7 separate regions of the Homo sapiens genome follow, and regions 2, 3, 4, 5, 6 and 7 are each linked to region 1. Evidence: promoter capture Hi-C in 16 types of primary human blood cells and fetal thymus (Javierre and others, 2016). All regions are on one chromosome and are shown on one strand. Each heading gives the region's core, a stretch centred on a gene start or on the middle of the fragment in contact. The rest is flanking DNA. Distances are from core to core; before and after follow the strand shown. Region 1 holds the start of TM7SF3 (transmembrane 7 superfamily member 3). Region 2 has its middle 20 kb from the start of BHLHE41. Region 3 has its middle 4.2 kb from the start of BHLHE41. Region 4 holds the start of KLHL42 (kelch like family member 42). Region 5 overlaps REP15 (RAB15 effector protein). Region 6 overlaps PPFIBP1 (PPFIB scaffold protein 1). Region 7 overlaps PPFIBP1 (PPFIB scaffold protein 1).

Evidence for each region. The method cuts DNA at HindIII sites, captures the fragments that hold promoters and counts their contacts. A CHiCAGO score of 5 or more calls a contact.
Region 2: a fragment that was not itself captured here is called in contact with the fragment with the promoter of TM7SF3 in region 1 in 1 of 17 cell types (fetal thymus); the score reaches 6.6 in fetal thymus.
Region 3: a fragment that was not itself captured here is called in contact with the fragment with the promoter of TM7SF3 in region 1 in 1 of 17 cell types (fetal thymus); the score reaches 5.9 in fetal thymus.
Region 4: the fragment with the promoter of KLHL42 here is called in contact with the fragment with the promoter of TM7SF3 in region 1 in 1 of 17 cell types (activated CD4 T cells); the score reaches 5.1 in activated CD4 T cells.
Region 5: a fragment that was not itself captured here is called in contact with the fragment with the promoter of TM7SF3 in region 1 in 1 of 17 cell types (M0 macrophages); the score reaches 6.5 in M0 macrophages.
Region 6: a contact is called between a fragment that was not itself captured here and the fragment with the promoter of TM7SF3 in region 1, in 1 of 17 cell types (megakaryocytes). The highest score is 5.9, in megakaryocytes.
Region 7: a contact is called between a fragment that was not itself captured here and the fragment with the promoter of TM7SF3 in region 1, in 1 of 17 cell types (activated CD4 T cells). The highest score is 5.6, in activated CD4 T cells.

The regions. Positions count from the first base shown.
Region 1 is chr12:27,012,467-27,016,534 of GRCh38, reverse strand. TM7SF3 (transmembrane 7 superfamily member 3) reads left to right here and starts at 2,151. Exons shown (of 12, transcript NM_016551.3): 1 at 2,151-2,457. The coding sequence starts at 2,367. RefSeq lists a silencer at 1,959-2,458. The HindIII fragment of the contact is 5,016 bases long and covers 1-3,142 here.
Region 2 is chr12:26,102,527-26,106,594 of GRCh38, reverse strand. No RefSeq gene overlaps it. Among named protein-coding and RNA genes, the nearest start is that of BHLHE41, 20 kb to the left of the region's middle. The HindIII fragment of the contact is 4,994 bases long and covers 1-4,068 here.
Region 3 is chr12:26,127,195-26,131,262 of GRCh38, reverse strand. It overlaps a transcript of SSPN not described here. Among named protein-coding and RNA genes, the nearest start is that of BHLHE41, 4.2 kb to the right of the region's middle. The HindIII fragment of the contact is 706 bases long and covers 1,885-2,590 here.
Region 4 is chr12:27,777,860-27,781,927 of GRCh38, reverse strand. It overlaps KLHL42 (kelch like family member 42), which reads right to left and starts at 1,695. Exons shown (of 3, transcript NM_020782.2): 1 at 726-1,695. The coding sequence starts at 1,597. It overlaps MANSC4 (MANSC domain containing 4), which reads left to right and starts at 1,692. Exons shown (of 4, transcript NM_001146221.5): 1 at 1,692-1,718. RefSeq lists an enhancer at 1,179-1,678 and silencers at 1,544-1,853, 1,874-2,093. The HindIII fragment of the contact is 8,648 bases long and covers 1-3,375 here.
Region 5 is chr12:27,696,529-27,700,596 of GRCh38, reverse strand. It overlaps REP15 (RAB15 effector protein), which reads right to left. Exons shown (of 1, transcript NM_001029874.3): 1 at 3,001-4,068. The coding sequence starts at 4,034. The coding sequence ends at 3,324. All of the region lies in intron 3 of MRPS35-DT (MRPS35 divergent transcript), which reads left to right. Among named protein-coding and RNA genes, the nearest start is that of REP15, 2.1 kb to the right of the region's middle. The HindIII fragment of the contact is 3,800 bases long and covers 1-3,721 here.
Region 6 is chr12:27,649,835-27,653,902 of GRCh38, reverse strand. It overlaps PPFIBP1 (PPFIB scaffold protein 1), which reads right to left. Exons shown (of 30, transcript NM_003622.4): 7 at 3,762-3,893. Among named protein-coding and RNA genes, the nearest start is that of REP15, 45 kb to the left of the region's middle. The HindIII fragment of the contact is 2,418 bases long and covers 747-3,164 here.
Region 7 is chr12:27,533,789-27,537,856 of GRCh38, reverse strand. The region is part of intron 1 of PPFIBP1 (PPFIB scaffold protein 1); the gene reads right to left. Among named protein-coding and RNA genes, the nearest start is that of PPFIBP1, 12 kb to the right of the region's middle. RefSeq lists an enhancer at 3,225-3,274. The HindIII fragment of the contact is 1,212 bases long and covers 1,441-2,652 here.

The sequences.
Region 1 (4,068 bases), core at 902-3,401:
CTGGAGGGCAGTGGCTATTCACAGGTGCAATCATACAGCACTGCCCTCTTGAACTCCTGGGCTCAAGTAATCCTCCTGCCTCAGCCCCCTGAGTATCTGGGACTACAGGCGCATACCACTTCCCCCAGCTTATACTAATTTTTATATGTGTATTTAATTATGTACTTAAATCTAAAAGTGGATTATACCAAATCTACAAAAATAAGATTTTTAAACATTTTTGATGCCGATTACTTTATTAAAGTGTATATTCCCAGTATCCCTACCTAAGAATGCCTCCTTCTTAGCTCTTTTATCCACACTGGATGTTTTATACTTTTAAAATGTTTACATCTTAGTTTGTTAATTTGATTTTTTTATTTGTTTACTAGTGAGATTGAACTTTTTTCATGTATTTACTGGTAATTTGTATTTCTTTTTTGGGGTGAAATTCCCCATTCATGTCCTTTGCTAATTTTTTTTTTTTGGTCAACTTGCCTTTTCATATTGTTTGTGTGTTTACTTTAATAAAATTTAAATATTTATGTAAAAAGCATTTACGTAGCCAAGTCTACCAATCTTTTCCTTTATGGTTGTTTCCTTTGCTGTTTTGCTTCTTAGAAAGCTCCTCCCATTTTGAGATCAATTTATTAAAAAAAAAAAAGAGCGCCCTCTTCTGCTAGCTCTTTTATGGTTTTATTACTTTGGGATTTTGTTTTCACAATTAGTGTGAGATAGAGTTCTGCTTCTCTCTGCCCATAGTGCAGCTAATCAGTTAAGAACACAATTTATTGAATAATCCATCCACTGATTCAGATGCTACCCTTATCATAATTGTCCCTTTCATCTTCCTTGGATTTCATCTACTGAGGGTTATAGGAATAGGGGCATGTGGGAGAGTGAATAAGCACTACAGAAATAGATAGTGCTACCAAAGGTGTGAAAATTTGGACCAGGCAGTGGGAAAGCAGAGAAAGAATTGTGCCTATGACAAAGATTATTTGCTTGGCCAAACTCTAGTACGGCTTCTGAATCTTCTGCTAGGTCCATCTGTGCACTTCTTTGTAAAAATCCAGTTTTAGCAAAGAACCCCCTTTCCTCCATATCTAATCAGTTTTCTCACCCTGCACCATCCCCCAGGTGATGTTATGTCTTCAGAAGTCCTGTTAGGTCAGTTTCACCAAATGCCCCTTACCTCTGATGCTTCCTCTTAGTAATTTTCCATCCACTGAACTCCATACTGCTGGTTGGCTATAAATTCCCTCTTGCCCACGCTGTATTCGGAGTTGAGCCCAGTCCCTCTTCCCCACTGCAAGACCCAGTTGCAGTGGTCCCTATGCCAATTGAGACAGTCCTCAATAGTCTTCGTTCGGTGCTTTAACAAGTATCATTGAATAATTTTGTCTTTAACACTTCTTCACATTATGGTCACAGCTATATATTGTTAGCTTAGTAGTGGACTAACTGAACATGTAATTTCCAAGCTATAAGTTGCTCATCAAAATATATAAGTGAAAAAAATTAAAACCAGGGAAGGAAAGCAAGACAATCCTCCCCAAATAACGTTAAGTCTATGCGTCTAATTCCACATCATCGATGAGCCATCTGTCACATGGACTACTGTCCCTCAAACAGCACTCAGGTATGAGACTTGAGACGAAGTTCAGACCAAGGCCGTGTCTTCGAGGATATTTCGCTTAGAGAAAACGAAACTACTTTTAAATGTAGTGCTTATGACTAGTGCGGTAACCACTACACAAACAGCATTCTCCTGGCATTTTTATGCTAACATAAGCCTCAGCAGCGAAGACAATTGCTACCGGGGGAAATAACCTTCAATTGTGTTTTTAGCAACTGATTCCTCTTTTTTGCTGTTGTAAAGGGCCGTTAAACACGGAAACAGGAGCCTGGCGACGTTAGTCCGCAACAGAAAGTTATTTTGTACTTTCACAGTGGGTTTGCCTACTTGGTGAGATAAAAGTGGGGCAAGACCGGGCCTCAAGCCAGGACTTCCTGGGGGCTCCCGGGAGCACCGCAGGCTGCGCGTTCCCCGCGCGCCGGCAGGAGGCGCGCGCTGCCTGGAAACGCCCCAGCGCCGCCCGCGCCCAGAGACCCGCCGCTGTGACGCAGCGAGAGCCCGGGAGGAGGCGCGGGAACGCGCGTTGGGGGTCAGGTGCCGGAAGAGGAAACCTCTCGCTGGGGCTAGGAGTTCGGCGGGGCGCGCGCCGGCGGCTGCGGAGCTGGCAGGTGCGAAGCGTCTGCACCTGGCGGGCGATGGCGCCCGATGCGGGCGCCCCGGGATAGCGTGGGCGAGGCTGCGGGGCCCCGGCGCGCACGCCCGCACCTCTCCCCAGCCCTGGCGTGGGCCCAGCCCGGCCCAGGCAGCAATGGGGTTCCTGCAGCTGCTGGTCGTAGCGGTGCTGGCATCCGAACACCGGGTGGCTGGTGCAGCCGAGGTCTTCGGGAATTCCAGCGAGGGTAAGGTCGGGGCGCCTGGCTTCTGCAACCCAAAGTTGCTTTTGCATTTCTTGCGAGGTCAAAATCCGCCAGGGGTCTGTCAGCCTAGCAGGGAGATGGTGCTGGGGGCGTTGGTACACGCTGGGTGGTGAGTCCAGAACCGGCACGAATGGTGTTTCCTGCAGCGGAAACACTCATGGCTAAGGAGGTCTTACTATTAACCTCCTCATTTAGCGGAGGAAATGGGAAGAGATAAATAATTCTCTTTTTTTAACACAGTATTATCTCCCTTAGGGAGCAGCCATGTTTGTGGCTTTAATTCAACTTACTAAAGCGCCTCTTTGCTGCCCAGTGGACTGTCTGAGCTTCTGGACAGCAAGACTTGGGGTGGAACTAGCGGCTTAATGACTGATGGCTCTCAAGCTGCATGGAATTTTTACACCCCCAAATCTAGAGGCTTTTCAAACTGGTTATGTTCTACAGAGTTTGAGAGGGAAAATGAACCCATAATGAGGCTTTATTTTTAAAGAGCCTTTACCATCTAATTTATTAATACCATCTGGAGACAGGAAAACATTCCATACTCACAATGAGAAATAAAGGACTTTCTGAATTACAGATACATAGACATACAGATAGAATGTGTATACCCTCAATTCTACAAGTTCAGCCACAAATGAAAAATAAACACAGAAACACAAAAGCTTGCCAGTCCAGGTATCAGAGTTGTTCTCCTTACTTGAGGGCAAGAAATTTCTAATCGATTTGACCTTAAAAAAGACAAATGGACAAAAACTGTGTTCTCTGTTGTCTCATATCCAACAGGAAATAGATCTCTATGAGATATTAATTCGTTTACAGAGATCACAAAATTCCCAATCATTGCAGCTACCAACAGGAAATAACTTGTCATCCATAAATGAACTGTAAAAAATAACAATTTAATAGAGAGTAAAACTAAAATGAGAAAAACAAGAATCAACGAAGTTCTATTGCCACTTCAAATTCACCTGTGGGAGCCAAGAAGCAACATGCCCGGGCTTGGCTCCCTATGAGTACACCATTTTTGATGATTTCAGGTGACTTTTTTTTTTTTTTTTTTTGACGGAGTCTCGCTCTGTCGCCTAGGCTGGAGTGCAGTGGCATGATCTTGGCTGACTGCAACCTCCGACACCCGGGTTCAAGCAATTCTCCTGCCTCAGCCTCCAGAGTAGCTGGGATTACAGGCGCCCGCCACCACACCCAGCTAGTTTTTGTATTTTTAGTACAGGCGGGGTTTCACCATGTTGTTCAGGCTGGTCTCGAACTCCTGACCTCGTGATCTGCCCGCCTTGGCCTCCCAGAGTGCTGGGATTACAGGCATGAGCCACCGCGCCCGGCCGATTTCAGGTAATTCTTGTTCATCTCAGTGAGAACTCAGAATGGGATGTTAGATTGTAAGTCTTGTGCTTGGTGAATGGGTTTGGGCAACAGCTCATGGTTTGTTAATATAAAATGTAAAAGGCACTAGTTGTGCCAGGCAGATCATCATGTGCTTTTCCATGAAACTAAGCACATTCTGTTTTGTTTTGAGGTTAATAGACTAGTTGCAGTTCTGAAACATAATATTTTCTGAATAATGTGATTGTGTTG
Region 2 (4,068 bases), core at 634-3,133, 910 kb after region 1:
GCGTGCATTCTGGATCACTACTCTGCAGTTAGGAAAATTTCCCCAGGCAGGGAGCCAGGCTCATCATGACGTTCACCTCTTAGGTTTCCCTGCCTTCAGGGATTGATTGCAGTCTTGCATTGCCTACTCTGCCTCGTATTGCTTGTTCGCCAATGTCTGAAAACACTTGCCTTTGATATTTCATCCAGTTTTACAGTTAAGGCAAGAGGACTAGTCCCAGATACTCCATCAGAGACAGAAGTGGAAGTGCTGGTCTCTATATTGGATAATAGCATTATATTAATATTAAATTTCCTGAAATTGGTCATTGTACTATGAAGATGAAAGAATTGCTTGTTCTTAGGGTATACATGATGAAGTATATGGGACAAAAGGTTATGATGTCTTCAATTTACTCTCAAATGTTTCAGTTCAAATAGTCATATGAATAGCAATAATATGTATATTTGTAGAGGGAGCAGGAGAGATCTTGATAAACCACATATGGAAAATGTTATCAGTGGTGAATCTAGATGAAGTGTATATGGGAATTCATTGTAGGATTTTTGTAACTTTTCTGTAAGTTAAAAAAAATTTTTTCAAATAAGGAATAAATAAAGCATCCCCTTCAGTGTGGACTGGACTTAATGATTCATTTCTAAAGATTAGAGTAGGGAAAAAAATAGTAACTTTACGGTGGAGAAAGTTGACAGACACCACCTTAAACAAGTGATATTAACCAAGTGATCATGGTTAATATCACTAGTGATAAGTCAGGTGGATATCATGTACCCATTTATATTAAGTGATGCAAGGGCATGTCACCTCTGTGATTTTCTCACTCACAATTTATAACCCAAATTGGCCAGGTGCTGTGGCTCACGCCTGTAATCCCAGCACTTTGAGAGGCCAAGGCGGGCGGATCACTTGAGGTCAGGAGTTCGAGACCAGCCTGGCCAACGTCGTGAAACCCCATCTTTACTAAAAATACAAAAATTAGCTGGGCGTGATGGTGAGCACCTGTAATCCCAGCTACTCAGGAGGCTGAGGCAGGAGAATCACTTGAACCCGGGAGGCAGAGGTTGCAGTGAGCCAAGATCGCGCCACTTCACTCCATCCTGGGTGACAGAACAAGACTCTGTCTCAAAAAACAAAAAAAAATTATAGCCCAAATTAAAAACTGAGTGTCCTTAATATACCTTTCCTTAGATACCCTTTAAAACTGGGTACATATTAGCCATTTCATTTTCTTTCTACCTACATAAGACGCATCCATCTCTAGAGAAATGAGGATATGTGTTTATGAATTTTATTTCAATTTTAGAGTCCAGAGAAATTTATGACATTTTTATAATACAGTGATTTTTTTAAATGTGTAGTCCCATTTTAATACCAATGTCAGTGTTACTAAATAAATGCCATTCATAACATTTAAAGAAGGAAGAAGAACTCCACATATCTGGCTTTGAAGGTGGAGGCCGGGGGCCAGCACTAAGGAATGCAGGAAGTCTCCAGAAGCCAGGAGCAGCCTTCAGCTGACAGCAAGGAAACAGGGACCTCCGTCCTACAAGGGAGCCTCCCCTAGAGCCCTTAGAAGGGAACACAGACTGTCCTCTTCGATTTTAGAATCATCTTGATTTTAGTTTGATATGACTCACTTTGACTCTCTGACCTACAGAATTATAAGAAAATGAATCTGTATTGTCTTATGCCACATGAAGTGTATATGGGAATTCACCCTATATATACTAAGCCAGTAAGTTGTGATTGTTATGGCTGCAATAAAAAATGAATACACTAGGCCTCACTGAGATAGTAGGAAAGTCTTGAAGGAGGTGAGAAAGGGGGCCATGAGGAAATCAGGGGGAAGAGTGTGCCAGGCACAGAGAACAGCAAGTGCAAAGGCCCTTGCTAGGAGCATGCACAGCACAACCAAGGGACAGTCAGGAGGCCAGTGTGCCTATGATAGAGTGAGCAAGGAATAGATTTTAGGAGAAGACATCAGCATAGGAGGATTTGCCTTCTCTGTTGTGAAATCGGACTGATTGCACTTCCTACCCAAGCTGGGAGGAGGAGAACCACCTTGCCCTTTATCTGATTGAGAAATTAGGTGCTCAGCCCTAAATCCTGTCCCCCACTGCCCAACTCCGTTCACTCGAATGGTAGTTTTGAAGCATCCTCATTTGTTTGGCTACTTCACCAATAAGGCCAACTCTTATATAGTTGGCCCTACCAGCCATCTCCAAATCACCCATTTCCAGGACATGGTTATCAGACCTGATGAGGTGGCTTGCTGTGGCTCTGCCCACTTTGAAGGTCAGCATGGCCATACTCCTTTATAAACAGTAATCTTTCTTATACCTGCCTCTCGGAGATTAGGATTCCTTTCCTGAAAGTTGGTTACAAGAGCCCCGATGTGCTGGTTTTTCTCATAGGATTTAGCATCAACCTGCAAAACATATGGAATTTTCAATATTCAACTCTTCACATTGTGGTTTTAGGCGTTTTATCTTTCTGGCTTTGGAGAATAGATATTTTGGCAGATGTAAAGGTGATTGGCTGTCTCTACATCTGTCAAGCTCCAAAGCACTGTTACCAAGCATCAGAGACCATATTTCAGGGAATATTTTCCTTCTATTTTAACTGAGTCTGTGATAAACTGGATGTGATTTGCCTTAATATTGACAGTTTCTGCCCAAAGCACATGTGATTGGTTTGGGTTGAATGACCGCCACCCTTTCTCTCATGATGGGAGAATATGTGCTCTCCAGCTTGTACAGAGAACAAAGTAATTGAACCAGAATAGGATGAAAAGAATGTCTCCTTATTTCTATTTTTGTATTCTCCTGAAAGTCCCCAAGTTGAATACTTCTGATGTATTTACATTTATTGTTCCTGTTCTTGAAATTGATGTAGGGTGGGCATTGGGTCCTGGCTAATTATTAATTTAAGTACCCCCAGTACCTACCACCGTGTCTAGCATCCAGTAAATATTTTTAAAATTAATTCACTCAACCATCCCCTCATAAAATGAACAGCCTTTCTACATTTTTTATGTCTCTAATATTGGAAATTGGTAACATTTGGTGGCATTGACCATTTATTATGTACCCGATAAAAGCATTCCATTATCCTTTAATTCATTGGTTGAAAATAGTTTGGAGGAAGTGTTAGCTCATGAGAATAATATACTCTTAATTTATTAAACATTTATAGTAAATTAACAGAAAAACTTAAACAAAATTTAAAAGTGAGCCCAAAGGGATGAATTGATGAAACATTTTATCATGTTTTATAACTGAAAATACAGTCTCCTAGATAGATACATTCAGTACCCTGTGGGTGAGGAGATGTGGTAAAATGGGTGTGAAGTAACTGATCTCAGTAACACTCCTCTTTCTTTAGTAACTGAGGCCTCCGTGTGACTGCAGACATCAACCGAGTGCTCATAGCTTCCTCGTGATGCCTGGCCAGTGTTATGATACTAGGCAACCCAGTGTCTCAGGACCAACAGCGGAATAAACTTTGGCAGAGATCTATACGAGTTATTTCCTTTCTTACACTGCACAATTTCCTAGACATTCAGCCACCCTCTCATCATCAGACCTGCTGAAATCCATAATAAGCAACAGGCTATTAGATAAAAATAGTGGAATAAAACTGCAAATAACATTCTCCCCAAAATGCAGAGATGTCTGTCCTCCGGGAATATTTTATTCAGCTCTGGCGGCTATAGCGAAATACCATAAACTGGATGGCTTAAACAACGAATACTTATTTTTCACAGTTCCAGAGTTTGGAAGTCCAAAATGAGAGTGTCAGCTGGCTGGGGTTCTTCGTGAAGGCCCTCTTCCAGTTGCAGACAGCTGACTTCTCACTGTATCCTCATATGGCAATAAGAGGGTTCACTAGCTCTCTGGGGCTTCTTATCAGAGCACGAATCCCATTCATGAGGGTTCTACCCTTATGACCTTATTAGCTCCCAAAGGACCCACGTCCAAATACCATCACATTGGGGATTTGATTTCAATATATGAATTTGGGGGTAGGGGGCACAAACATTCAGTCTATAACATAAAGGATGGAAGA
Region 3 (4,068 bases), core at 988-3,487, 890 kb after region 1:
CAGACGTTAAGGACCATGTGCTTAAGGAGTTAGTTAAGTTTGTGCAATTGCAGACAGGAAGATTGACATTTTTCTGAAATTGGAATTAAATACCCTAATACAATAAAATGATGCTGCCAACTCATATGGCATAATAGAGGGGAAGAGACTCACTGATGAAAAAAGAAGAGGACGTGGACAAGCCATTTCCTTTTAGTCACATCACTGCAGAGATGGCTAGTGCCAACCCAGTATCTAGTCTCCACTTCCCCTTTACTAAAAGAACCCCTATATTGCTGTGGAGCCTCAGCTTTGAAAACTACATTTGTAACCTCTTGTAATGGGATTGGACAATGAGATGGGTGGAGCTTGCAAAAAAAAAAAAGCTCCTTAAGAGACCTTGCTCAGTTGGCAGGCACCCTTTCATCCTTCCCTGCAGGAGTTCCTGCAGCCATCTTCTGACCATGGGGTGATCTTGCAGATAGACGCTGGTGGAGAGTGGAAAAGCAGAAGTGTGGGACACTGATGGCACTTTTACCACTTCACGTTACCCCTGGACTGCTTACCTTCAGACTTCTTTTATGTGACCAAAAAAGAACTTCCTAATTTCAGTTGCTGTTATTTTGGCTGAAATGCAGACCTTAACTAATATACACAGCCTGGATTTCAGTCAGTTTCCTTACTAATGATGATTATAAGTTAATACCAGAACCATAGTACTTGTTGGGTAATTGTTATATATGATTTTTCGCTTTAGCTATTAAATAAAAAGTTTTATACCAATAGTTTTGATTGTAAGTCTGGATTTAACCCTCCTTAGCTAGTTTTCTGTTGTTGTTTTTTTAAAGTAGGAGTACCTTTGAAGTCAGAAGAAATATCTGTTACTGACAACTCTCTGCACCAGGAGGACACCATCTGACAATTGATGTAAGGACCGTATGAAGCCCATAGTGGGTGGGTGAGAGAAGTGGACATTTAGTGCATCTTATTTATATTTGAATGTGCTTCACATTGCATAAACATGTTTTTCTTGGAAGATTTTTCCAAGAATTTTCATCAGCAGTAACAAAGGAAACACAGACATTAAAAGGCCCCTCTTCCTGCAGACTTCCACCATCCAACTAGTCCAGACTCCAGAGAAATGGTAGAGAACACTTTGTGAAAGTCCTTAATGGGGTTGTCATCTCCTCCTCATGCTACTTTTCCGGTCTCATTATGGATCCACCTCAATCAGTATGAGAAGCACATGGGCACCATGAGGGACCAGGCAGATACGTAGGGGCAGAAGGGCCAGGGAATCCTCCTATTGTGGTCTTTGGGCTTGGCTCTCTCCTAGTTGTCTTTTGTATGTTAAGAACTCCAGGAATTTTGAGCACACGTGAAATGCAGAACAGCCTGCATGAATGGTTTTGATCATCACATAAATATGAAAATACAAATGATTTCAGCAGAAATAAAATTTATTTCTAATACTCAATATTATCTGCTCCTTGAAGCTATGCAAAGACTAATAAGTGCATAAACTTCTTGAGCAGTGTTACATAAATGTAAAACATGGTTCATAGGTATGTTTATGGCTACAGACACATTAATTGATAGTCTTCAGAAAGACTTAAGGTCCTTTACAAATTAAACGGGGACACGTGTGCTGTTTCTGCTCATTTGCTGAGTATGCAACTGGAAAACCCAATCTTCTATTCTGGCATTTAAAATCCGGTACTTTCAGCAAATAACATCATCAATATTTTAAAGTCATACTGGCTTCTGGTGAGTAGCAGTGGAATTGCCGTCCCTCCTTAAATCCTTCTCTGAGGCACCCTTCTTTCTGTGGTGTGCCTGACAACATTAACTCTTCTCCCTTGAGAGTAGGTGTGCATGCCAAGAGCCGAAATTCCTAGGGAAGCTTTTGTAAGTCCAGATCCCACCCCGCTATCCCCTCCAGGCCTTGATTTTAGCATCAACCCAAAACTTTTTTAGATTGTTTTGGACTCTGCTTAACTTTGATGTAAAACGTCTGCAGATTCTTGTCCGCTCTGTAAAACAGAGGTGATCAAGAATGGCTTCTGCCCTTCAGATGGGCCATTTTCACAGTATCACAGGCAGGAGACTCTACGCCCCTAAGCAGATTTTGGGGCCATCAGAGATGTACAGTTAGTTTGGATCACACTTGGGTTCCTAAAACACCCTGGAGTTAATTCTCCAGAAGGGCAGTAGGGCTTGCAGAACCCTAAAGAGGCAGAAAACCTCTATTCCCCATGGAAACTTTAATCCTTTCAGGCAAGTTCTGTTTCTGTTGGAAATCCAAGACTTTGCAAACAGGATAAGGCCTTCTAAAGTCACAGGGTGAATATAATGAGTGCAGGACTTAGGATATTTAGGCAGGGGGGAGAATTGGCCTAAGTATTTCCTTTCATTAGTGTCTCTATAGGTAATGATTTCCTTACTTAACCAAAGAAAAGCAATGGAAGCAGCTACCCCTCGCCTATTAAAAGGAGAAAGATGGATATCTTTAATTGAAAGCAAAGCATCACAAAATTCTTTAATTATAAGCTCAAAGGGGCTTTGAGCTCATCTTGTATCTTCTTGGCTTTCAGCAGGATAGCATTAAGCTTTCCTAAAAAGATAAGACTCAACCTATTTTAAAACATATCCAAAGATGGCATTCTAGTTTCTGTTCCTTTGTTAGCGTACTTTTTTTCCCTTTCTAACCTCACCACAGGTGAACTTTTCCTATTACTAACCTGAAGTCTTCACATTAGAGCTTGGCTCAGTTTGCTCAGCAGAGCTGGTGAACAGCTGGTCACCATCAGCCTTTTCTAAACTGTACTTCCATCTGTCCATCTGTACAAAATTATAAGAGTTAATTAGGATATTTGGATTTAAATCAATAAATTTGAAGCTAGATGCCAACTGAATGACTCACTGACATGGCAAAAGACTGCCTCTCTTCTTGCCATAGCTTTTCTTATCTCTGTCATCAGCTCCAATGCTAACACCTCTCCCTTTTCCATCTCTCTTGCAAAACTCCCCACACAATTTCATTCACACACACACACAAATGTGCACACTTATACTGGTAAATAGAAAAACATCCCTGAAGCAGCTAGTTAACACTTATACCTTACCACTCACTATTCACATTGAGGTGTAAGAGTCGTCCAGGGTCCAGACTCTCGAACCCACTGTCTGGGCTTAAATCCTGGCTCTGGGACCTTGGAAATATTTTGCAATCTCACTTTGTAAGCATTTTCTCATCTGTAGAATGGAAACAATAATAGTATCTACCTTAGAGGGTTGTGGAAATGATTAATGACTTAATACATAAAAAGCTCTTTGAATGCAGTCTGGTACTCTAATCTTAAAGGCTATATAGTTGTTAGCTATTGTTACACCCTTCTTGCGCAAAGGGATATTCAGAGGCATCAAACTATGCCCAATATTCCAGAAGCCAAGAGTTTGAGAAAGAACAGGAATGGGATTCAAGTTTAAGGGAAGTGGGTAACCAAGAAGAGTCACCAGGGTGAAAGATCAAAGAAAAAAAAGGGCAAAAAGCAAACAGGAGATTGACAGAACTACAGAGAAATGGCAAAAGCTGGCATTTAACAGGGAAAAGGTAGACAGAGAACATAAGGGAAAGGAAGATAAAGAAGAAATGAAAAAGGGAAACATGAGTTAAAAGGTGAATATGTAAAGGAAAGACAGAAAAGAAGAGGAAAAGGGGATCAAGAACAACAAAGGAGATAAAAATTGGGAAAAGACCCCATTTGCAGTTTGAGTAGGTATCACGGGAAAAGGGTACGGAAGTGGGGAAGCTTGGGGCAGAAAGGATGGGGGGAGAGAGGAGCCTCAAAGAGATAACAGAAAAAAGCTTCATGTGTCATTTGCAGCTTTTTGTCCCTTTAAATTATGGGGTGCTGCAAGCTTATTTAACCCACCTTTGAGCCTCAAGGCTCCTGATCGTGTTCCTCCTATTTCAACTTGCATTTAATCTCTGCCCCAGACTTAGCTTCTAAGGTTTGCCCTGGTCAGATGTCTGCCTTGTGTTTTTAGCCCGACGAGGCCAAAATGCAATGATCTTGTCTTTATTTC
Region 4 (4,068 bases), core at 446-2,945, 770 kb before region 1:
CCCACTCCTCAAGCTCCTCCTCTTCCTTTCTTCAAGTCACCCTTGTTGGAGGCAGGAGAGATTTGCAGGATGGGAGGGGGAGAAGGTTGCGTAAATGAAAATATTCCAATTCTGTAGTTGAACACTTCCAGGCTCAAGCTGTGGGTCATGACGATGGCTGTCCAGGGAAGGAAGCAAAAGAGAGGATAAAAAATAAGAAAAGCAACCCCTATTGCAAACGTTAATACATTTCCAGTGATTATCTCTTGATCATGATGGGTATCACAGTGTGGAAGACTCTGTTGTCACAGTCACTGACATCAGAAAAAAATCCCCCAAAGTCAGTGTTACAGGTTACTGTCCAGTGTATCATTATCATCAGGATCAAATCCTAAAAACTAAGACAAATTTTTTAAAAATTAAGGGGCAATTTTCTTTTAAAGTATTCTTGTAGGAAACCACAACATCTTTTTTCACAAGAACAGAGGCAAAGAAAGCAGTTTCACCTAAAGGCACAATACCTGCCAAAAAACCACTCCACTTCTTGACCTCACTGGGGACGTCCTCTTCGCAATTTCTTAGTTCATTGGGAATTTTGCCAGCGCCAAGGCCAACAACATTCCTGAAGATGTCATTTCCACCACAGCACACCCTCCCCTATTTACTGGCTCAGTAAACACTGGGGTAATGAACTAATGAACAAGTGAATGAATGAGAAGGCAGCAGCACTCTGCCGGGGTGCTTACCTCTTCTGGTTCATGGAGGCCACCTGGAGCCACTCGTTGGTGCTGGGGTTGTAGGAATGCGCAGCGGAGATCTCCTGGCTAGTGATCCTGTACCCGCCCACTATGAAGAGGTAGTTGTCCAGGATGGCAGACCCATAGCCCCTGACATTGACCAGGTCGGGAGGAAGGTTGTTGGCCAGCGGGAACCAACGCTCAGTCATCTCCTCGTACCTGAGCATGGACGGGGGCTCCCCCTGGTAGGGGTGAGGGGCCAGGGGTCCCCCCAGGAAGTCCCCGAGGGCCACGAGGACAGGAGTCCCAGTCATCCGGGCCTCCCTCAGCCTCTGCTTCAGGCTGACATCCCCTGGAGCTTGGGGAGGAGACCCCAGGAGGTGGAACTGGGGCTTGCACAGCACCTCGTGGAAGTGGACGACCATGAAGCGCAGGCAGGCCTCCTGCAGGTCGGGCAGCCCGTACACCTGCGCCAGGCGGTACATCTCCAGGCAGTTATTGAGCCGCACCTGGGACAGCAGCAGCTGCAGCAGGGACGTGACCTGCAGGAAGGAGGCCGCCTCCACCAGCTCGGACAGCAGGCTCACCTCATCCATCTCCTCGTCCTCGTCCACCCCGCCGCCCTTTTCCCCGCGCGGGCCCAGGAGCCAGCCTTCGCGGGCCCCGCCGGCGTTGATGAAGTCCAGCACCAGCCGCAGGCCCGGCGCGCTGAGGCCGCGCAGCTGCTGCACCTCCGGGCCGCCGGCCTCCTGGCTCAGGGCCTCGCGCATGCCGGAGCGGTAGAGGGCGCGGAAGTAGTCGCTCTGCTCGATGAGCTTCCTCTTGCTCACCGGGTAGCAGCGGTCCTCCAGGCGGATCTGCACCATCTCCTCGGCCGACATGGCTGGGGGCCCCGGGGCGGCAGCGCTCACCGCCAGATCTGCGCGCCGGCCTCCCAGCCCCTACGCGCGCGCCGGTTCCGGGCGGGGCGCCGAGGGATGGCGGCCCGGGAGGAGCGGCGAGGTGAGGGCCGCCCGCGCTCGCCCGGCCTCTCCGGCGGCCCCTCCTCCCGGGGCCCGCTCCCGCGAGGCGGCGGCCCTGCCCTTCTCCTTTCCCTCAGCGCCAAAAAAGGGCCGGCGGAGCGCGGCGGGCGTCCTCGCGCGGGCTCTCCCGGGCGGCGCCAGGCGGGAAGGGAATTCCAGCTCCCAGCCAGCAGCCTCCTCCCCCGCCGCCCTTCTCACTTCCGCCCGCGGGACCCCAGCCGCCGGCCTGACCTGCCGGCTGGATCCGGCTCTCGGGGAGGCCCGGGAAGCTGCGGGCCCGGGCGCCTCGGCTGCGGACGCGCAGCTGCGGGAGGCGGAGGGCGCGCGTCCCCGCAGCCTCTCCGCCCGCCCGGGGCGCGCCGGCTCCGCCGCTTGTTGGGGGCTGCAGTGATGCTCCGGGGTACCCCAGGGAGAAGAAATTCGTTTTCTCTCCCACGCTGCTTTACACGGGCTAAAGAAAAAGAAATGAGCGTGGGAGGAAAGGGAAGGATGGAGTCTCTGGTCCAGGGAGACAAAAAGGCATCAAATATGGGGTCGTCCTTCTGGCCCAGTCCGGCATCGAGTGTCAGTGGGCTGAGGCACGCAGGCGATCTATGGACAGTTGGTGGCAATGTTGGTGGCACGTAGAGCTGATTCTCTGGTAGCGTGGTCGCGTAGGAGCCATCTTACAGGAGGTCCAGGCAGATGGCAGCAGGTTCTCAGAGGAATCGGGTTGGGAGGCAGGGGAGCTTGCATTTGCCACTGGGGCCCCTTATTCTCCCTAAGTTATTAAAAGAAAGATGAAAGCGCAGCCCGACTAAATAAAGTTACATCACGTGGCTTCTGGTTTTAAACCATGTTTTCTATGAGCCATTGCTTTTCTACTTCAGTCCAGTCCATTACGGAATGTTATCCTGGCGCAAAAGATCTGACAAAATTGGCTCATAAATGTCTGCAAGAAGTAGCTTTTCTTGTCACCCCCTTTCTCCACCTACCCTGCCCCCATCATCTGAGGACTATTAAGAGAGACCACACGTGCGGTTTGGCTGAGCGCGGTGGCTCACGCCTGTAATCCCATGACTTTGGGAAGCCCAGGTGGGCAGATCACGAGGTCAGGAGTTCGAGAGCACCATGGCCAACATGGTGAAACCCCGTCTCTACTAAAAATACAAAAATTAGCCGGGCGTGGTGGCACGCGCCTGTGATCCCAGCTACTCGGGAGGCTGAGGCAGGAGAATTGCTGGAACCCGGGAGGCGGAGGTTGCAGTGAGCCGAGATCGCGCCACTGCACTCCAGCCTGGGCGACAGAGCGAGACGCCGTCTCGGAAAAGAGAGACCACTTGTTTCCTATGTTCTCTCACTGAACATTGCAATTAGAAGGCCCACCCCAAATAATAATAGGAAGGACTTTTTGTCTTGCTAATGAATTCATCCCAGGAAGGGGGTGGGGGGAGAAATATATTGTTTGGATTATCTTTGGGTAGGAGAAGGGAGAAGGATTGGGAGGAAGCAGAGGGTGTGTTCACTCTTATCTTACAAAACAAAAACAGAAAACCTTGAAAACTTACCCCAAACCAAGATTTGAGAACCACCTATGATAAACAGTCCTTAACTTGGAGAGAATATGTGTTTGGTTTTTTTTTTTATTATTACAAGCTTCAGCTTTCTTCTTGAATGACAGATTGTTAAATAATATCTTCTTCATAAGTACATTTCCCCTATTTAAAGAAGATACATCCTACCATGCTAACATTTTACCTTAGGAAGGAGAAAGGGTTAAAAACCAGAGAACTAAAAGAAAGTCAAAGGTGAAACATGAGATCCTTTCAACATAGTTTGGTTACATTTGTGGTTCTTACTACGAAATTTATCTGCTTCACAGAGAGGTGTTGTTGTCATCTTTTACTTTGTTTATTATTATTACTTGGGAAAGGAGGTTTATCTTTTTATTTTTTAGAAAAAAAAATGCATTTTTTTTTTTTTTTGAGACAGAGTTTCCCTCTTGTTGCCCAGGCTGGAGTGCAATGCTGCGATCTCAGCTTTCTGCAACCTCCACCTCCCGGGTTCAAGTGATTCTCCTGCCTCAGCCTCCGGAGTAGCTGGGATTCCAGGCATGAGCCACCACACCCGGCTAATTTTGTATTTTTAGTAGAGACGGGGTTTCACCATGTTGGTCAGGCTGGTCTGGAACTCCCGACCTCACGTGATCCACCCACCTCGGCCTCCCAAAGTGCTGGGATTACAGGCATGAGCCTCCATGCCCAGCAAAAAAAAATGCATTTTTTTTTTCCATAGAGATAGGGTCTTGCTACCTTGCCCAAGACAGACCTCAAACTCCTGGCCCCAAGGGA
Region 5 (4,068 bases), core at 572-3,071, 680 kb before region 1:
GTCCTTTTTAATTGACAAGTAATTGTGTATATCAATACTCCATTTTATTAAACACTCTTTCATGCCAGCTTCTAATGAAGGACAACTACAAGGCCACAGATATGTTCTTCCTATTCCAGGTTCCTCAAGGAGAGGGCTATGGGGGTGAATAAACATTGACGGGAGGGAAAACAAAGCCATTTCTTGAGGCTGAAGAGAATATACATCCCTTTCTTCTTTCCTGAAGCTGCAGGCATCATGGGGATTATGAATGCTCCTTTCCTCGCTTTCCCCCAGGACTTCTTTGGGAGATAAAGTTGAAGAGAAGGGATTTGGGGGTTGGTGTTCCCCAATGTTGCAAGGCGTATTTTAATTTGAAGAACACCAGGCTCAATGGAAAGAAAACAGGGCATGCACTTAAGCCTAAATCTAGATTGAAGTTAATGACGCGCCTTTAGATTCACTGTGGATCCTGTTTACTGGGCTGGATAAAGAATCAAAGAGTGGATCTGGATTATCGTACTAAGCACTTTTGATTTTTTTTTCTTTTTTCTTTTTTTTTTTTTTTGAGACGGAGTCTCTCTTTGTCACCCAGGCTGGAGTGCAGTGGCGCCATCTTAGCTCACTCCAACCTCCACTTCCCGGGTTCAAGTGATTCTCCTGCCTCAGCCTCCTGAGTAGCTGGGATTACAGGCATGTGCCACGGCTAATTTTTGTGTTTTTAGTAGAGATGGGGTTTCACCATGTTGGTCAGGTTAGTCTTGAACTCCTGACCTCGTGATCTGCCTGCCTCAGCCTCCCAAAGTGCCGGGATTACAGGTGTGAGCCACCGCGCTTGGCTATTCTTAATTCTATAACGAATAGCAGTTCTACGAGGTGGGTATTGTCATCTCCGGTTTTTAGATAGGAAAATCAGGAGGCATTAGGGCTACAGAAGAAATCAAATGGCACCCTCAAGTCTACCTAAGGAAAAAGTACATCTACAGGGTGGGGGCAGGGTGCAAGGAACTAACAAAGAATGATGAAGCACCCCGGAAGGGACAATGGCCTGAGAGGGGAAGGGGAGGGAGCTGGAGTCTCAGAGAAGGGCCAGCTGGACAGGAGCTGTCTGGAACCAAGCATCGTAGTGAGGCAGGGAAAGTTGGGCTAATACATTCCAGACCTGTCCCCTTTCTGATCTCGTGCTCTCCACTGGATGGAAGCCAGAGTGATGCAGTTAGAGCCCAGAAGAAGGCAGACAAGGTGGGGAGTAGATGTGGAGGTTGAAATGAGAATAACCAGCACAGAGGTTTGGTTGGATACGTGTAAATAAAAGAGCTGGGATTTTAAGCAGGTTTGTCCTCAACTAAACTCGAAAGCTCTCACTCCTTCTACCATGACAAAGTTTTTACGACTCTGCATTGTGGCCTATTGCTGGTCATGATATCAATTTGGTGGCTTGCAGTCAGCATTTTACAAACCGATGTAGGACAAACTATCAGAGTGCACTGCAACATGCTTCAGTTATACAGATCACAGCAACAAATGTATTTCTTACTATGGAATACCTGCATGACGCCACATTGCGCTCATATGTCTTAATTCAGCCTCACAGGAACATGCCCTAAATTCCAAAATACAGAAAAGGCCAAGGCCATAAGAAGACTGTCAGAAACAGAAACGATTTTAAGAGGTTGGATGCAGTTGAAAGGATTCAGCCCATGTTTCTAATGGCTGCGTATCAGTGAACAGGTGGTTCAACAACAGGAAAAGTAGCCACAGATTAAGGCCAGGAAATGGAGGAAAAATGAGCAACAGTAACCAGCTAGCATTTTTGCAGGTGAACACCTTTGTTGTCTCAGCAATTCCAGTAGTTTAAAATCAGAGAATTTTCTTTTTATGTATTTATTGAGATGGGGTCTTGCTCTGTTGCCTAGGCTGGAGGGCAGTGGCACGATCACGACTCACTGCAACCTTGACCTCCCGGACCCAAGCAGTCCCCCTACCTCAGCCTCCCAAGTAGCTGGGACTACAGGCACACATCACCATGACTTTTTGTATTTTTTGTAGAGATGGGGTTTCACCATGTTGTCCAGGCTGGTCTTGAATTCCTGGGCTCAAGCAATCCTCCTGCCTCAGACTCCCAAAGTGTTGGGATCACAGCTACTCTTCCTGGCCAAAGAATTTTCTTTTCTTCTTCTTTTTTTTTTAATTGATTTTTACTTAACCTAATTTATAGGCTTACAGGGAATTTTCTTTACACGACTGTAGAATATGGGCTTTGTAACTGGGCAGACTTTACTTTTTTGTTACAAGCCACTTAATAGATTTATGAGTTATCTAGCCTCTTTGATTTGGCAAATAGAAACCTCTTAGAGTCATGGAAGACACATGCAAATCACGCTAATATATGTAAAGCATCTGACTTGACTTACAAGTGCAATAAATAATGGTGATTCCTTTTTGTACTGTTATAATTCCACACTGGCTTTTAAGTAAAAATGGTTATTATATGTGAATACACCTTCCTTACTGCAAAGGCTAAACAAGTATTATTAAAAGGAATAGTTTTATAGGTCACTGTTTTTAAATCATAGGCAGAGCTAACACTAAAGTGAATCTCAAAGTAAATCCCATCAAAGTCCTCTCAGTGCAGAGACAGCAGCTAGGGAGAAGACAGAATAAGGTAAGTGTTAGAGGAAAAGAACGCTGTGAGTTTTGTGCAGGAGTCCTGAACCCAAACTATTTTTTTTTTTTTAAAGATGAGGATTCACTCTGTTGCCCAGGCTAGAGCACAGTGGTGCAATCACAGCTCACTGTAGCCTTAAACTCCTGGGCTCAAGCGATCCTCCCACCTCAGCCTACTGAGTAGCTGAGACCATAGGCATAAGCCACTGTGCCTGGCTTGAAACTGGCATTACAAATGTAATTAAACCTGCTCTGTAGCCTTACCCACTACTTTATCCTACCCATCTCCCACCAACAGATGCAAAAACACATTTTATACTTTTGAGTGCTAGACTTATTATTTCAAACAGACACTTTTTTTTTGCAAATCAAACTTTAAATGTGACTTTATTATCTCTCTTCCATTTTTATTATTGAATAAGTGAATGAAATATTAAACTAAATTATAACTTTTCCTGAACTGTTTTTAAATCATAGGCAGAGCCAGGGTTTTCTTTTTTTCTCTCTCTCTCTGTAATTGCGACATGAATGTACTTTGATCCCAGTAATCATTTTCAATCAATGGGAAAACAAATGAAAAAAAATCCCATGCTGGAATGATGCAAATAGGTGAGCTTGCTTATTAGAATCTTTTTTTCTTTTCCTCTTACAGGCCACTCACATAATACATATCCAAGTCAGAGAATGCTGATATAAACCTTGCCCACCTCTCTCAGCCCGTCTTTCTTACTCAGACAATTTCTGAGCAGCTCTTTGATGAACACACAATCTTCAGTTTCCAGGACAAACTGAGCCACAGCCTTCCCTCCTGGCAGATGGCTCCTCACCATCTGACTTTTGACACTGTCCAGGACAACTCCCCTGATGTCTTTAGGCTTTCCTGGCATACCAAAGATGATAAACAGACCCAGGCAATCCTCTCCTATTAAGTTACAGAATTCTTCCAGCTTATCAAATCTACTTTTCTTCCAGGAAGACTCCTCTACCCTTGATTCTGGATTGGAAAGGTCACAAGGCTTAGATTCCACAGGAGGAGGTGAAGACATCTGCAGAGTCTGTACTGCGAGCTGAAGCTTTATTTGCTTGTTGGATCCCCAAAAGGTCCAAATCCAGTCTGCACCAAACAGGAAGGCTTGGTGCTTGGTCATCTTGGTGGTGGTCAGCCACTCATCAACTCCCTTTTCTTGGCAGAAAGTGATGAAATGGATTAAGAAGATCTCATTCAGAGTATTTGCAGCTGGGCAGAGTTTACTTGGAGGATATTCAAATCCAAGGTACTCCTTCAGTTTCTGAGCTGCATGGACTATAGCTTCACTGACCACCTCACAGACGACGGGCACCTCTTTGCTGTCCTTCAGAGCCAACTGTTGCGATGCTTTCTGCCCCATTTTCTCTGCATCCAAATATCAAACATGTGAATCT
Region 6 (4,068 bases), core at 706-3,205, 640 kb before region 1:
CTAATTTTATCATTAGAAAATGAAAGAGAAACCAATCCTAGTGTTTATATGACACAACACAATTCTGCACCTTTTCTACTGCCACTTTATTTTAGTGCTACTTTTTAAAGGACCAATTTGCTCACAAAACTTGTCCAAGAGCCCAGAGAGTAGGAAAGGAAATTAGAGTGTTAAGCAATATTAACTCCTCCAAAAGAGACACTCAAATACCCTGCATGGGAGATGACTTATTTTACTACAAGCCACAAAGATCCCTACAATGGTTACTATATTTTTGCTTCTCTCTCCCTCTCCTTTTTTTTTTTTTTTTTTTTTTAAGATGGAGTCTCACTCTGTCACCCAGGCTGGAGTGCAGTGCCGCCATCTCAGCTCACCGCGACCTTCGCCTCCAGGGTTCAAGTGATTCTCTTGCATCAGCCTCCCCAGTAGATGGGATTACAGGCACCCACCACCATGCCCAGATAATTTTTGTATTTTTAGTAGAGACGGGGGTTTTACCATGTTGACCTGGCTGGTCTTGAACTCCTGACCTCAAGTGACCCGCCCTCCTCGGACTCCCTAAGTGTTGGGATTACAGATGTGAGCCACTGTGCCCGGCCAGCTTCTCTCTTTTTACAAAGACATGCATGTATTCCTGCATCACAAATTCATAGACTACAGGACAAAATTATCCACGAATGCCAAAAATTACAAGTAGAACAATGCTATATGAAATAAAACTTTGTAAATAGAAATTATTTTAAGCTTCCAAGTGTAATGATTCAAGTTCACAAAGGCTAAGAGAAGGGATGCTACAATAAAATAACACTTCCCAGTAAACCCTTAGGCTTTTAAATTGTGGTCTCTTATAAAATGGGGCAAAATATTACCTATCATAGTTATACAATTACACCTTAATAATGGCACAATATTTCACTTAGATGATATCTATTTTCTTCTTATGAATTAGGTCATGAACTGTTTGACATTATTCAGCAACATATTTGTGATTCCTCAACTAACAGGTCAGAATTCAAGTCTAAAGAAAAAAATCAGCTTTTCCCAGTTATCTAAGCTAATCATCCTTGCATAATATGAGTCCTTAGTGATATTCATCAATATGATCTTTCTAAATATATATTTTCCTACTTTCTCATTGCTAAGAAATACCATTGAATTCTTATCTGCTATTGTATTTTACAGCTTCCTTTCTTCTTTGCTCGTGCAAAGAAGAAACCACTGAAAAAAATGGAATTGTAAACTGGGATAATTTATCTGTTTTAACAAAAAACTACTCAACTATATTTCATGGCAATACTTTAAATATGGTCTAAATTTCCAACCTGAAATAAATCACATCTTCCCCTGACAACACAAGCTGGAAAATCTGGAAATGGCTCCCTAATGTAAAACTTTAAAAAACAGAATACAAACTATTTCAATCAATTTCTTATCAGAAGTTCAGTCCTTTTAAAAAAGAAAATTCCTGTTCCCTTTCTCTTTTCCCTTTCAGAGAATTCAGGGCTCCTGCAGGAACTCAGTCTCTGACATGTATGCTCTTACCACAAGGGGGCACTGTTGAATGATGCTAATCATCTCCCATTAGCAATTCCAGGGACAAGTCCTGAATCTTCCAAAGTTTAAAGACTTGTACCCTCAGTCCTTTGGAAATGCCTATACTTCTTCCCCATGCCAATATTTTCTTGGAAATTAATATCCAAATATAAATCTAAAATTCTAAGAGAAAGTTAAATATTATGGATTCATGAAACACCCAGAAAAATATTTTTATTAAGGGGACGATAACAAGAACATGAGAATATTCAAGTTAGTTTAATGTTGAAGATTATTTTAATTATTTTCATATGTAACATCACAAAGTTTACCACATATGCTCTAATCTCCGGGTCTGTGCATACGTTTTAGAAATAACACTGAATTTTTATTAGATTATCAGGGATTGAGTGTACAGGAAGTTTGATGACAAGATCACTTTGTATGTGATTGAGAGTGCATGAGTGAAACAATGAAAAAGTGGGGAAAAGAGATTTGATTAAAAAAAGCAGCCAAACTCAAGGGATATAAATATTACCCTAGGCGCTTACAACAATAAGTAACACATCTACTGCAATTTAGCCCCAACATTTGGTTAACATCTCATATACAAATTAAGTTAACAACAGGTGAATATTTCCCCTTGACTTTGTGGACGCAATGTAGAAGACCACCTCTATCCATATCTACCATCAATTCTTCCCTGCAGCAGAGCTAGCTCCACTGCCATGTTGCCCATCTGTTGACTGAGTTTTACTATTACTTTACCCTGCGACTATGGGGTTAGGACCTGACAAAAAGAGGGGAAAGAGGAAAATATCAAAGAGATTTTTAGAGAAAATACAAAACCAAGAATTTTAAATTGGGTAACTTTCTAAGTCCTGTTTTAAGAGCCCCAGCTTCTATCAAATGAGAAACATGCTCACACAGGCAACTGACAAAGAGTTTTAAAATTAAAACATGGCTGGGCATGGTGACTCATGCCTGTAACCTCAGTGCTTTTGGGAGGCCAAAATGGGAGAATTGCTTGAGGCCAGGAGTTCCATACTAGCCTGGGCAACACAGTAAGATCCTATCTCTTAAAAAAAAAAAAAAAGATTAAAACATGAACCAAATGAAAGACTTCCTTTTGCTATGGAGGAAGCAAGACATATACCAAGACTTTCCACTGTAATTGAATCTTTGACAGAAAATTTAATTTTGAAAATAGCAGTGGAGTAAAACTTGTTATTTCCAATATAAAGAACTTTCCTATGGTGGATAATGTATGTAATGCCTGGTATCATGCTGGCTTATAGTCAGCGTGAAATACATGATTGAAATAAAAACAGAAGGGAAAAATAAGTAAACCATTTTCTCTCCTCTCTCCTTGGTACCCATTTTCTAATCCAGCATGACACCCTTCCATACTCCAACCAAGGAAACAAAATAGGAAGCAAAAAGGAGGGGAGATGGCTCTCAGAGAAAAGAAATTTCTGCAACTCTTTATACTTCATTTCAAATGTATGTTTCAAATGGATATGCTCTCTGTCTCCATCAAAAACCAACAGAGAGGTTAAGAACTTGCCAAATGTCACAAAGCAAACAAACTAGGAGGCCTGAATTAACAAAATAGAACAAACAATAAAGCTTGTTAAGCCACTAAAATGGATACTTCAAGTTACAGAATGTACCCTGATTTTTGTAGAAGTACAGTGAGTCTTATTTAATTGGAATGATTTACATGTGGAACAGACCAAAAGTAGAATGCCAAATTAAAAGACCTCAAAAAAGCTCTGTCTGTGATTTTGTGAGTATAGAATGTTAGCATGTTTTCTATACAGATTTTCAAAATCCAATTACATAGTAAATAATCAGTGTGCCTAAATAATAACTACTAGTGAAACCATGTATTTAAGCCCATTATTTACAAAATTAAGAAAAACAGTATGGATGGACGGATGCTCCAAATATCGTAAAGTCAAAAGTATTTCTAAAGGTTAATAAAAAGATTAATACTTCATATCAAAAGTCTAAAAATAAAAATTGCCATTAGCATCTAGTGATAAAAAGTCAATGCAATGAAAGATTATTCTTAAAATGAAGTAGGATGATGGTACGTAGTAATTAACTGCCTTCCTTGCACACCTCCAGGGAATTTCAACTTTGCCCTAGGAATGTATGTGTGTCAGAGACAAAGACAGAGTGACAGAGAGAGAGAGAGAGGGAGGAGAGACTGTATCACTCACCTCTGTGTCTCTGAACTTATCTTCATAATCCAATCTGTCCTTCTCTACAGCTGTCAGTTTCAACTTCAAGTTAGATATTTCAGCCATCAGATCCAACTTCTGAGTTTCTAAGGATGTCCTACTTAGAAGCTCCTATTATAATTTAACAGATACATTCAAGAAGTCTTTTATTATAAACAGGCACGTGAATTTACCTCATTTATGATCGCACAAAGCAGCACCTATCAAGTAGAGGATATAGTGAAGTATAATTACTGAATCTACACACTTTTAAAAAATTATTCACTTGAGGCTGGGCACAGTGGCT
Region 7 (4,068 bases), core at 797-3,296, 520 kb before region 1:
TAAAAGTGAAGATTTTGCCACAGCAAAGAATCACTCTGCCTTAAGAGTAAACCCAAGAACAAGATGGACTGGGCATCTTTCTCCCCATGCCCAGTCCATCTTGTTCTTTAAGGCACCAGCGCAGGACAAGGAAACAAGAGCCCACAGTGGCCAGACCTCTTTTTAAAATCTGAATTTCAATAGGTGAATTTCAGTAAGTAAACCCTCCCAAAGCAAGTGTTGGCTGAAACTTCTTTATTAATAACACGCAGGCCAAACCAACCCTGTCTCCATGCAGTCTCCACCCCGGGAACACAGGATGAGAACTCTGCTGTAAGCCATGGCTCACAGGAGGTCAAAGAAAGCTTTGGAGTAGGCAGGGTGGCCTGGAACCAAACTTACTTGGAAAATTTGTCTGGCAGTAAGGTGCAGAATAAGGAAACGGGGGGCCGGGCGCGGTGGCTCACGTCTGTAATCCCAGCACTTTGGGAGGCCGAGGCCGGCGGATCACGAGGTCAGGAGTTTGAGACCAGCCTGGCCAACATAGTGAAACCCCATCTCTACTAAAAACACAAAAAATTAGCTGGACGTGGTGGCAGGCATCTGTAATCCCAGCTACTCAGGAGGCTGAGGCAGGAGAATCACTTGAACCAGGGAGGCAGAGGTTGTAGTGAGCTGAGATCACACCATTGCACTCCAGCCTAGGTGACCGTGAGAGACTCCGTCTCAAAAAAAAAAGAGAGAGAGAAGGGACTACCTGCAGGGCTCCAGTAGGAGACAACGGCAAGGTCTGTATCAGAGAGAAGGAGGATGCGAACCCAGATATACTGGTAGGGGGAATGAAGAGTGATTAAAAAATTATTGAAAGGCAAAAATGACCTTGCTGATGACCAGAAGAGAGTCCCCTAGGCTACCACCCACAAACCTGTTACATTGCAAACTTTAATAATGAAGCTGAGACGTTAGGACCAAGGGAAACTTAGCCTCAAAAGTGAGCTCTTTGACTTCTGAGACATCTTCATGGACCTGTGACCTGGGCAGTAACACAGGACCCCATGCTCAGAAAAGACCCACAGTTGGTTTAATACTCTACTGTCACCATCTTGAGAATGATAATAATTTTGAATTTGCGTTTTGTAAGTCAGGTCCAATGGGACAATGGAGCCCACAAGTGAGCAGAGGAGAACGATGTGATATGATTTGGATGTTTGGCCCCTCCAAATCGCATGTTGAAATGAGATTCCCACTGTTGGGGGTGGGGCCTGGTGGGAGGTGACTGGATCGTGGGGGCGGATCCCTCATGAATGGTTTAGCGCCATTCCCCTTGGTGAATCTTGCTCAATTCGTTCATGGGAGATCTGGTTGTTTAAGAGTCTGGGGCCTCTCCCTTCTGTCTCTCTTGCTCCCTATCTCACCGTGTGACAAGCTGGTTCCCCTTGCCTTCTGCCATGATCGGAAGCTTCCTGGGGGCCTCGCCAGAAGCAGATGCTGGCACTATGCTTCACGTACAGCCTGCAGAACCGTGAGCCAAATAAACCTTTTTTCTTCATAAATTATCCAGTCCTAGTTTTCCTATATAGCAATGCAAAACAGCCTAACATACGACGTAATATGTACAGCCACCATTCCTGGCCTCTCTATTCACACAGTTTTCCCAATGCACCATGAGCTCAGAATTCCCGTGAACTCCTGGTGCGTGGGAGTTCAGCAAGACTTCAAGCGAGTGCAAGGTAAGTGTGTTACCAATACAACTGAGTAAGCAGGCAGGTGGGTGCTGACTGCCCAAAGAGGCAATGACTTCCATTTGAACCAGAACTTGATTGCATACAGAAATGTCTTTCTAAGAAACACAAATGACCAAGGAGGCTTAGCGTTTTATCTCTTTCTCATGTTACTTAACCATATTAGCCAACCACTTATGCTGAAAATGACGGCACAAAAGGAAAAGGAAAGATAAGGCAACTCATAGTTGCTTCTCCTTTCAGTCTTTCATTACACATCATAAGCCAAAGGTAGGTAGGTGTCAGTAGAATGTGCACATGTCAAGAAGTGAAATAAAAGTAGTTTAGTTTTGTGCAGTGTTTCTACTGTTCTCATAACAATATACATATGCGTCGACAACTTCAGTAATTCTGCATATGAGTTCAATGCTCTATATTTTCATTTAAAGCCAGCATTGCACTGGGCGCAGTGGCTCACGCCTGCAATACCAGCATCTTGGGAAGCCAAGGCAAGAGGATTGCTCGAGTCCAGGATTTCAAGACCAGCCTGAGCAACATGGTGAGATCCTGTCTCTACAAAAAAAAATTGCCAGGCACGCATCTGTAGTTCCAGCTACTTGGGAAGCTGAGGGGGAGGATCACCTGAGCCCAGAAAGTAGAAGCTGCAATGAGCCGTGACCACACCACCTCGCTGTAGCTTGGGTGACAGAGTGAGATCCTGTCTCAAAAAACAAAACAAAACAAAACAAACAACAACAACAACAAAAACAACATTGTATAATAAAAAGATGAAGAGTAAATTCATGCTAAAAACTTCACTGCTTAGTTTTTTAATTTTTAAATTGAATTCATGCTGTAATTTTAATTTTTAATTTTTCTTCACATAGAATGACAAGTAGCCAATACTATGACAAGTCAAGAGAAAAAAACTGTATGAGAAAGGAAAGAAGCTTCATATTTTAGTACCTTTAACAGCACTTTTTTCTTGCCTTTTGAATAAGGGGTCACACATTTTCATTTTGCAACAGGCTCCACGGATTCTATAGTTGGCCCAGCTGAAAACCATTGAACTCAAGAATATTATGCCTATCAATTTATACTGTACACACTTGAACAAGCCTTTACTGACATCTTTCAAAGCAACCACCATAAGACCCACCAATGGACTGATGGGGTAGTGGTTTTCAGTACCACATTCTTAATCATTGCATTCTTCAATCCTTTTCTCACATACCCCTAATGTCATTACCACAACAAATCTGCTGAAATGCCACAAGCCTATGTCTTTTCAACTAAAGATCTTTCTAGAAATAAGTAAACTGAAGATCAGAGACCACCTTATCAGGAGGAGAATTTAATCCAGTGCTGTCTCTGTTGGACAACTCCTTTCTACAGAGTATTTCCTGGTGCTTTGATGTATCTGTTTTAACCAAACCCTAGCTGTGGGCTCCAAAACCAGTTGTCTCTCACCACTCAGAGCTCAGGTTTCCCCCAAGAAGTTGGCCTGTGAACCATCAAGTCTGGTTGTCTAAAAATTCCTCCTTCAAAGACAGTCAAGTTTCCCTTTGTCTAATTTCATTCTCTTTTTTTTTTTTATAACCACTACTTTCCACTTCAATAAACCAACTTCCTGCCTCGAGACACATTCTGGCAAATGTGTCAGTTTGTATTGTTCAGATGAGAGACTTCTGTCATTCTTTCAAATTTTTCCTCCATGACAATAATCCCCAGAGCCATCCTCTCAGGAGCCTGAGTTACTTGTCTGTGAATTTCCTTTCACTGCTTCTTACTCTACTGATAAATCAATGCAGACCGCCTGCAGTGAACTTACTCAATTCGTATCCCTTCTGATCACATCTTTTTTTTTTCCATTTCCCCTATCCTCTCTTCCATCGCATCAGAAGAAGGGTTCTTATGGATTTCGAGGCTAACCCACTGCCCTCCACTTGATTTTGGGTCTAGCCCCATCTCTCTACCCTGGACCATGCACTCATTCCTTCCTCCCTTTTTCTTCTTTTAATATCCTCCTCTCTACCTGAGCCTTCCTCAAACCCAAGCTATCTACCATGTCTCTCTCGGATCAGTTCCTTGAAAGGATGAACTAACCAGGCCACCTGCAGTTCATCAGCCCCCGTGTAGTCCTCAATTTTTTGCATTCTGGATTCCAGGTTCATGAACTGACCTGACAGCAGGACCAGGGACAGTCTGTTGGATACAGCTTTGTAACGAGTCTGTTGCACTGGATGGCATGATTAGTTCACTTACGTTGTGCTTCTTCCCTTGGCCACCATCATCCTCCACTTCTCTGCAGATCCTGCTCTATCTCCTCTCCTAACTTCTTTTTTGCCTGACCATTTCTAAATATCAG